Regions from separate parts of the Homo sapiens genome. Here region 1 is linked to region 2. Evidence: promoter capture Hi-C in 16 types of primary human blood cells and fetal thymus (Javierre and others, 2016). All regions are on one chromosome and are shown on one strand. Each heading gives the region's core, a stretch centred on a gene start or on the middle of the fragment in contact. The rest is flanking DNA. Distances are from core to core; before and after follow the strand shown. Region 1 has its middle 10 kb from the start of SELENON. Region 2 holds the start of MACO1 (macoilin 1).

What was found. Contacts are between HindIII fragments. The CHiCAGO score rates a contact against its expected background, and 5 or more counts as called.
Region 1: a fragment that was not itself captured here is called in contact with the fragment with the promoter of MACO1 in region 2 in 2 of 17 cell types (M0 macrophages and M2 macrophages); the score reaches 5.7 in M0 macrophages.

Annotation. Positions count from the first base shown.
Region 1 is chr1:25,788,098-25,792,247 of GRCh38, reverse strand. No RefSeq gene overlaps it. Among named protein-coding and RNA genes, the nearest start is that of SELENON, 10 kb to the left of the region's middle. The HindIII fragment of the contact is 4,012 bases long and covers 881-4,150 here.
Region 2 is chr1:25,428,600-25,432,817 of GRCh38, reverse strand. MACO1 (macoilin 1) reads right to left here and starts at 1,921. Exons shown (of 11, transcript NM_018202.6): 1 at 1,640-1,921. The coding sequence starts at 1,719. It also overlaps a transcript of RHCE not described here. RefSeq lists silencers at 1,406-2,065, 2,456-2,895. The HindIII fragment of the contact is 6,345 bases long and covers 1-4,016 here.

The sequences.
Region 1 (4,150 bases), core at 1,637-4,136, 360 kb before region 2:
GGAGCTTTGGAAAATTACAGCATGATGAAGGCAGACATGCTGACTGGGCTGGAGGAAAGGAGTGATTTCTCAGGAGACAGCTGGGACACGTGGACACAGATGAAAGGGAAGAGGAGGCAGATAGTTCCTGACTGCTCCAAAGATAGGCTAAGGGGATCGGGAGATATTAGGGATCCAAATGGCTCCATGACCCCTGGGAGGACCTTGAGAGCTATAGTTGGTGGCACCAGTCAAGGCTGTGGGGTGGTCCCTTGGTGATCAGGTGAGCTGTGGACAGGGAAGGTGTCCAGACCACATGGTGATCATAGGTGGGGAACCGTGTGGAGTCAGGACCCTTCAGGAAGCACACGGAGAATGACACAGCAGAAGGTGACCCAGCCAGGCAGACTTAGTTAGAACCTGGGCAGGTGCGGAGCACTCAGTGTCCTGCTTGGAATTACCCATGGAGGAGGGGTGAAGGTAGACAATGTTATGTTTCAGCAATATGTGCTTTTGAGAGACCCAGAACTCCCTGACTTCATACCTGCCACAAATCCTGAAGGTTTCAAAGAAGAATGAAAAGAAGGCCCCAGGCCCCACAAACAGCCTCCGTTGGCGCATGTGCGAGAGAAGGAGCCGGGCCACCTTGGGAAGCAGCTTCCATTTTTTAAAAGCGCAGCTGGGCCCGCTTGAAAGGAGTGGTAGAAACAGAGGGGGCAGCAGCCTGGAGGCTTGATCCACGGCTACAGGGAAGAAGGGTCAGAGGAAAGGTTTCTGGTGCCCTTGAAGTCTCCCAGGCTCCTCAAAACCCAGGGAGTAAAAAAGCAGAGGAGAGGTCATGCACACAGGGCAGAGGGCACTCGGGCCTCGCGGCACTCCTGGGGCACAGGCTTCAGAAGCTTCCGCTTAGGAATCTGAGAATGGTTTTCCACTGAGACAGATGTGAGAGGAAAAAGAATTCCTAGGTCTCTCCACTCAGAAGTCGGAGGAAACTTTCAGAAATGTAAAGTGGGTCATCTCATGTGCTGCTTTAAACTCTTCCTAGCTTCTTGCTGCTCTCAGATTAAAATTAAACTCTGTCTTAGTCCATTTTATGTCGCTATAACAGAAAACCACATACTGGATAATTTATAAAGAAAGGAATGTATTTCTAGAGGCTGGGAAATCCAAGGTTGGGGGCCTGCATCTGGCAAGGGCCTTCGTGCTGCGTCCACTTGTGGCCAGAGGCAGAAGGGCAGAAGAGTGCCAGAGAGCAAGCAAGCAAGCAAGCAAGCAAGCGAGGGCTGAATCGGCTTTCAGAACAACCCACGTTAATGCATTCACAAGGGCAGAGCCCTCATGGTCTAATTACCTCTTAACAAGCCAGGTTCCACTTCTTAACACCATCCAAAGGCAATTGCATTTCGACATGAGTTTTGGAGGGGACATTCAAACCACAGCAAGTACTTACCTGCCCACCAGGCACTGAGGGATGGAACCCCTTCTGCCGACTTCCTTTGACCCCCCAGACCCTCCCACTCGCTTACTGCCTTTCTGTGTCTCAGATGCAACAACACTTCCTGCCTCTGAGCCTTTGCATTCACTGTTCCCTCTGCCTGGAATGCTCTTTGCACAGCCTGTCACAAATGTCAGCTCCCCAGGGGCCATCCCTGACCTCTCCATCTCTAGTGATCTCCGTGCGAACTCAATTCCTGGAGAAGGTGGTCCATGCAGGTCCTAAGACCTGGGAAAGCCACAGTTGAAATTTTGTAACTTGTGCAAGACGATGGAATTATCCCTGAAGGTCTCTCTCTTTGAGAAGTGGCCCAGAGGGGTATGGCGCTGGCCCACATCTTCTCCGTTCTCTGCTGTTTACACTCTGTCCTTGCTCTGGTCCCTGGATGGCGAGGACATCGTGGATCTGGGTTATCTGGGTTCTGGGAGCATGATTTTGCTAGGATAACTGCCAGAGGAAAAGGAGTGTGCTGGTATTTTCTAACCTCGGGCAGCTGCTGGGAATCTCATCTCTATTGAGTCAGACTTTGGAAGAGCAGATGCTCCAGAAATTTGGGCTAGGGTTAATTCAACAGTGGAGAAGGTGAAAGTACGACATCAGCAATGTAGGAGTTGACCCAGGAGGTGGCTAGGGCTGCAGAGCCTGACCCTGGAGCAAGCCTGTTAGGGCCTCAGTTCCCTCCTCTATAAATGGGGGTGCCATCTTTTCCTGCCCATCTCCCTTCCAAAGTTTTGTAGACAGGATTTATCAGGTACTCCATGAAGAGGAAACACTAATTGGACCTCAAACATTCCTGGGCAAGCTCTCGGCATCTTCCTCAGCCCTGGGCCCCTGCCCGAGCATCCCCCACCACCAGACGGGTCCCTGGAAGACCTTGGACAGTCAACAAATCTTCATCCCAGTTTCCCAATTTCTGTAGATTCAGGGCTAGCTAATGGCAAAATGCTTCCTCAATGGGAAAAGCAGAAAACGTTCAGATTTATTGCTTTGAGATTTTGGTCTGTCTCCTGGGCCTGGTTGATGCGGTTTCCCCCAAGTTTCAGAGCATTTTGTTTAAAAAGAAGAATTTTTGACAGCAGTGTTTTGCCTCACATTTACACAAGGTTTTATAGTTTACAAAGAGGTTCACATCATAACAATCACTGCTAGGATGCACTGAGTTCTTACAAGGGGTGGGGTGGGGAGGCTCGATTAACCCTTGAAAGCACTTTCCTTTTCCATGGATGGAAAAGCAGAGGCTCAGAGGAGCTTAACTAAGGGGCTTGCCCAAGGCCACACAGTCCTGGAAAAGGGCAGGGCAGAGCTGAACACAGGTCCACCAGTTTCAAATGTTGTGCTTGTATGAAACCGACATGGGTTGTCCTCTCCTGTCGCACCCCTCTGCCTCTCTTGCCTTCAGCCTACCCACTGCATGCCCTGCTGCAGACAGTGAGTAAGAAAACACAAAACAAAACAAAACCAAACTCAGAGGCTTGTGCAGAAAACAGGCTGGGATGAGTATAAAAATAACCAGGTATGTTCAAGGGAATCCTTGAGTCCCTAAACAATGTATTTTCTGCTAACATGATTTATGTAGTGGTGCAGGTGATGGAGGTCTTTGCAGCACCAACAGGGTAGTTGCTTTCTGAGTTCTAATTCTGCACTGTCCAAAACAGCAGCCAGCAGCAATGCATAGCTCTTTAAATTTAATTAAAATGAAATGAAATTGGCCAGGCGCGGTGGCTCACGCCTGTAATCCCAGCACTTTGGGAGGCTGAGACGGGTAAATCACAAGGTCAGGAGTTCAAGACCAGCCTGGCCAAGATGCTGAAACCCTGTCTCTACTAAAAATACAAAAATTAGCCTGGAGTGGTGGCATGCACCTGTAATCCCAGCTACTTGGAAGGCTGAGGCAGGAGAATTGCTTGAACCCGGGTGCCAGAGGTTGCAGTGAGCCGAGATCAAGCCACTGCACTCCAGCCTGGGCGACAGAGCAAGACTTCGTCTCAAAAAAAAAAAAAAAAATTAGCTGGGTGTGGTGGCGCACGCCTATAGTCCCAGCTACTCGGGAGGCTGAGGCAGGAGAATTGCTTGAACTCAGGAGGCAGAGGTTGCAGTGAGCCGAGATCGCGCCACTGCACTCCAGCCTGGTGACAGAACGAGACTCTGGTCAATTAAAAAAAAAAAAAAGGAAATAAAATTAAAAGTTTAGTTCCTCCATTGCACTTGCCACATTTTAAGTATTCCAGATCCACATGGGGTGACCCTATTGGACGCCACTGTTCTAAGCCACCAGCAGCCTGCTCCTGTCTTATCCTGGCTGTCCTGAAGAATGGAGAGCTGTTGACATAGGTGGCAGGCACACACCTGTTTTAAGGTAGGTCGCTTTGCAGTCAAGGTATCTATAGATGCTATCCTAATACCTGAGCCCCTCTACTCCACTCTGGAGCAGTTACAGCTCCAGGGATGCAAATAAAAGGCAGAAACCAAGGCAGTGGCCACCAACTGGGGTCTTGCTACTCAAAGTGTGGTCCAAGGACTGGCAGCATCAGCATCTCCCGGGAGCTTGTTAGAGAAAAGCAGAATCTGGCTGGGCACAGTGGCTCATGCCTGCCATCCTAGCACTTTGGAAAGCTGAGGCGGAAGGATAGCCTGAGCCCAGGATTCTGAGACCAACCTGAGAAATGTAGCGACAAA
Region 2 (4,218 bases), core at 672-3,171:
GCTATAAATGGAGGTACATCATCTTATGTTACTGTAAATAGCAGCTATTCAAATGCCACAGTTGTGCTAAGTCTACCAACTCGGTTTAATATCCCTTTCCTATTTTTATGTTACCATTAATGTTAAGTTGGTCAAATATTTTTCAATAGCCAAAGGGGAAAAACTTTCTTTAATTCAAGAATGTATAGTGTATGTAACGTGAATTGAAGAGACCTTTCCTCCATCTATGTGTAGAAAAAATTGTTTGCTTTCACAGTTCAAGTTAAAATGGTCAAGTTCGATTCATCCAGCATAGATTAGAGTCTGTTTTACTCACTGCTCTATCTTCACTGATTAGAAATGTTCCTGGCACATAGTATATATAACTGATGAATGAATGAATTACTCCTATGCTCTATGGCTCATTTTATAAGAATATACCCAAGAAATTTTTACTTTGATTCCTTAATGCTTTTAAACTTGAAGAAAATCCCCAGTGTTTACATCAGTCAGCTGCTTGTGGAAAGCAATCATTCCACATCTGTAAACAAGAGCATGTGCAAGGTGTACAGTTATGTTAAGACAACTTGGGTGTCATCAGCTACCTCACATATTTCTTGAAATCCCACAGCTAGAGAAGCTAATTGTAAAACACCATGAGGACTCAATTAAGCCTACATCCACATGCTGAGAATTCTTCTTTGTAAACTAATTACTTCTCCACCGAAATCTGTATCAAGGCAAATACCATTTACAAGTAACATTCTGAGAAGAACCAGAAAATAACAGTCGTACACAAATCGACTTGGGGAAGCTATGATAGTAAGTTGCCCCATGAACCTGTTGTCTTTCTCTACCGGTGGACTGAATTCAATTTCTATTTAAAGGGACACTGCTTTTCTTGCGGATGAAAAAAAAAAAAAAGAGTTTGGAGAAAATCCCTTTTTAAAAACGTTCAAAGCAAGCTATCTGCTTGGAATTGTCAAAACAATATTTGCTGAAAAACTGGTCATCAGACCCTTCCGAATCTGGAGCAGGGCCACAGGGCATGATTTGGGGGTATCAGCTTCAGCCCTGGGTGCCAAGTTTGAGATCCCATATGGGAAGCAGAAGGTGAAAGAAGTGACAGCATGGCCCCAGGCCAGTATGCTGGCAGCTTGGGGGAACGAGGGGCCACAGTGGGCTCTCAACTTTGTCAGCCTCCCCCACCCCCCCGCGCTGTGGTCCACGCGCCTCCTGGCTCCGGCCGGCAAGCCCCCAGGCCACCGGGGGGCTCGGGGGCCAGCGGCGGCCAGTCAGAGGTCCCGGAAGCGGCCCTCCCGGCCCAGCGGCATGGCCGGGATGCTGAGGAACGCCGGGCTGGTTGGGGGCTCTCCGCCCCTCCCCCCGGCGGGCCCGGCGCTTCCAACGGCGGCGCGGCGGCTCCCTCAGCCAGCGCCCGCCGCGCCCTGCCCGCCCGGCCGGGCCGACCCTCGCCACGCCCCGCGCACCCGGGGCGGACCCCGGCGGGCGGGCCAGCGGCTCCGGGGCCAGCGCTCCTTAGGAGAGCCCCCGGCGCGGGCGTGCGGCCTACTCGGGGTTACATAACGGGGCCAGGCCCCTCGGAGCTGGAGGGGGACCGCAGGGCCCGCGCCCGCGGAGTGGGGGTGCAGCCGCTCACCTGCCGTAAATGCCCTCGGTGATCCGGTTCCGCTTTAGGGGGCGGCGGAGCTTACTGCAGTCGGCGTTCCGCCGCTTCATCCTCCCGCTGGGGGGCCGGGTGCCCGCGCCGCCGCCGCCGTCTCTCACCTCAGCTGCCGCCGCCGCTGGCCCGCCCCGCGTCGGGCCTGGACTCTACCCCTGAGGCCGGTCACACAGACATGGAGCCAGCACCCGGGGGGAGGGGGTAGCACGGGGAGGGGGGGCTCGGAGCCTCCTCCGCCTTCGGAAACAAAGAAATGACAATTCCGGGGCCCGCCCGCCCAGCACCAGCCAGCCGCCTGCCCCGCCTCCTCGGCTCCGACGGACGGCCCGGGAGGCCAATAGAAGCCACCGGTAAACCGCTGTCGGCCAATCCCAGGGCCCGCTGAGGCAAAACTGACTCTAGAACCCGCCCCTTTGAAGGACGGAAGAATGCGCCAATCATTATAGTGTCTGGGTCCCCGGCTGAGCCTATCAGAAAAGATTTAAATAGAGGCTTATAAATAGGCCCTATAAATATAACATCCTATATTACGCCTTGTTGCGAAGGTATGCTTTATTATTATTGGGTTGCGTTTCATTGTATTGTAATCCCTACTAGAGCATACCGTACGGCATGGCATTGTAGGCTCTCGTCTAGCAATGTATGAAATCGGAAGGCCCGGGTTTGCGGCATGTGCGGTGTCTGCGCTGACGTGCGCTTCAGCCAGTCGCGTCATTATGTAAGGGAGCATCCCAGGAACAGCGCCGGGGACCCTTCTGCGGATGCTGGAGAGCTCGGCCAGGCCGACCGCGTCAGCGCGCACCGGGGGTACGAATGACAAAGCAAACCCCACACGCACACAGACACACACCCTGCCAGCTTCCCGCGACGTGGTGACAGCGCGCCGGCCAATCGGAGGTGGCGGCCCCGCCCCGGGTTACGCCACGGGGCGGAGCCGTGGGGGCGCGCGACGTAGCGCAGAGATGCCCGGGGCGTGTGCGGCGGTGCGGCCCGGGCTCCACGTCCACAGGCTGGGCAGCGCTGTGGGCCCCGCGGGCGCCGAGTCCGCAGGACCCGCGAGGGCACTACCGCGAAGCATCGGCCTCCGGGCCGGGCCGGGCCGGACCGGGAGCCTGCTCGGCGGGTCCGGGCTCCTGCAAGGCGGGGACGCGGGGCCGGCGACCCTTCACGCTTCGTACTCATTGAGCGCCGATTTTATGCCAGGCACCGTGCTGGGTAATTTGCGTGTATTTGCTCATTTACTCCTTATAACTCCCCTGCCACGTACGTATGGCAAAGTAACACTTAGAAAAGTCCGCATGGTGTTTTTTTTTAAGAGAAATAAAAAGAATGTTTATCATTAGAGAAAACTGGGGAAAATGTAGGAAAGTGGCCGAAAAGGAAAAAACACCAATGAGTCTCATCACATTAACACAAATACAGTTGACATTTTATTGTATTTGCTTGTTTTCCAATTTTCCCCTATGGATGATAATGTTACTATTGCTATTAAATAGAATAGTGGTCATACTAGAATAGTAGTCATACTAGAATAGTAGTCATACTGTTTTTAACATAAGCATTTTTACATGTTTTAATGCAGCTTTTATAAATATTTCTGAAAATATTGCAGAATGTCCTATCCAGTAGCTTTATCAGTGTAATCCCTCAACGACAATGGGGCAGTTAGTCTTCCAGTGCATTTTTAAAACTTCCCAGGAAGGGCTGGGCGCGGTGGCTCACGCCTGTAATCCCAGCACTTTGGGAGGCCGAGGCGGGTAGATCACGAGGTCAGGAGATCGGAGACCATCCTGGATAACATGGTGAAACCCCATCTCTACTAAAAATACAAAAAATTAGCTGGGCATGGTGGCGGGCACCTGTAGTCCCAGCTACTCGAGAGGCTGAGGCAGGAGAGCGAGACTTTGTCTCAAAAAAAAAAAAAAAAAAAAAACTTCCCAGGAAGTAGATGCCATTTTGTTTTGTCCTGGGTTTCACAGAACTCTCTCTGGCCTGTAATCACCCCTCCCTTAATCAACATCTACCCCAGGGAGAAACTTTACACCAAATGCGTTGTCCTCAATCATGACTCTGTGTTACTTTCTTCTGCTCACAAACCTTCAAAGATCTCCCAGTGCCTGGAAGAGAAAACCCATTCTGTTTCGAAGGGCATCCAGAGCTGGTCACAGTGGGGACCCACCCTCCTTTTCCAGGCTACGCCAGGCAAGCAAACCGTTTTTCTCACTATCCTTAAATCCACTGCAACCGATCTTTCCCCCTTCCTGCCTCTGCCCCAACACAGTATCTCTGTCAGTGCCGCTTCTGGTGTGTGGTTTCTTAGGCAAGGCTTATCCATCCACTTAGGCAAAAAGCTTCTTGGAGATCAAATCTATACCCTGCAGAGATACAGTTAAGAAAAATGGCCAAAGTACTTGCTTTTTCAGAGTAGGGCTGAAATTCTAGCTTGGCCACTTACTAGCTTGGACAAGTTACTAAATCTCTCACAGTCTGTTTCCACTCAGGTTTGTTTTAAGGCTTGGAGGACAATGAGCCTTCAGAGCCAGACAAGCAGTAGG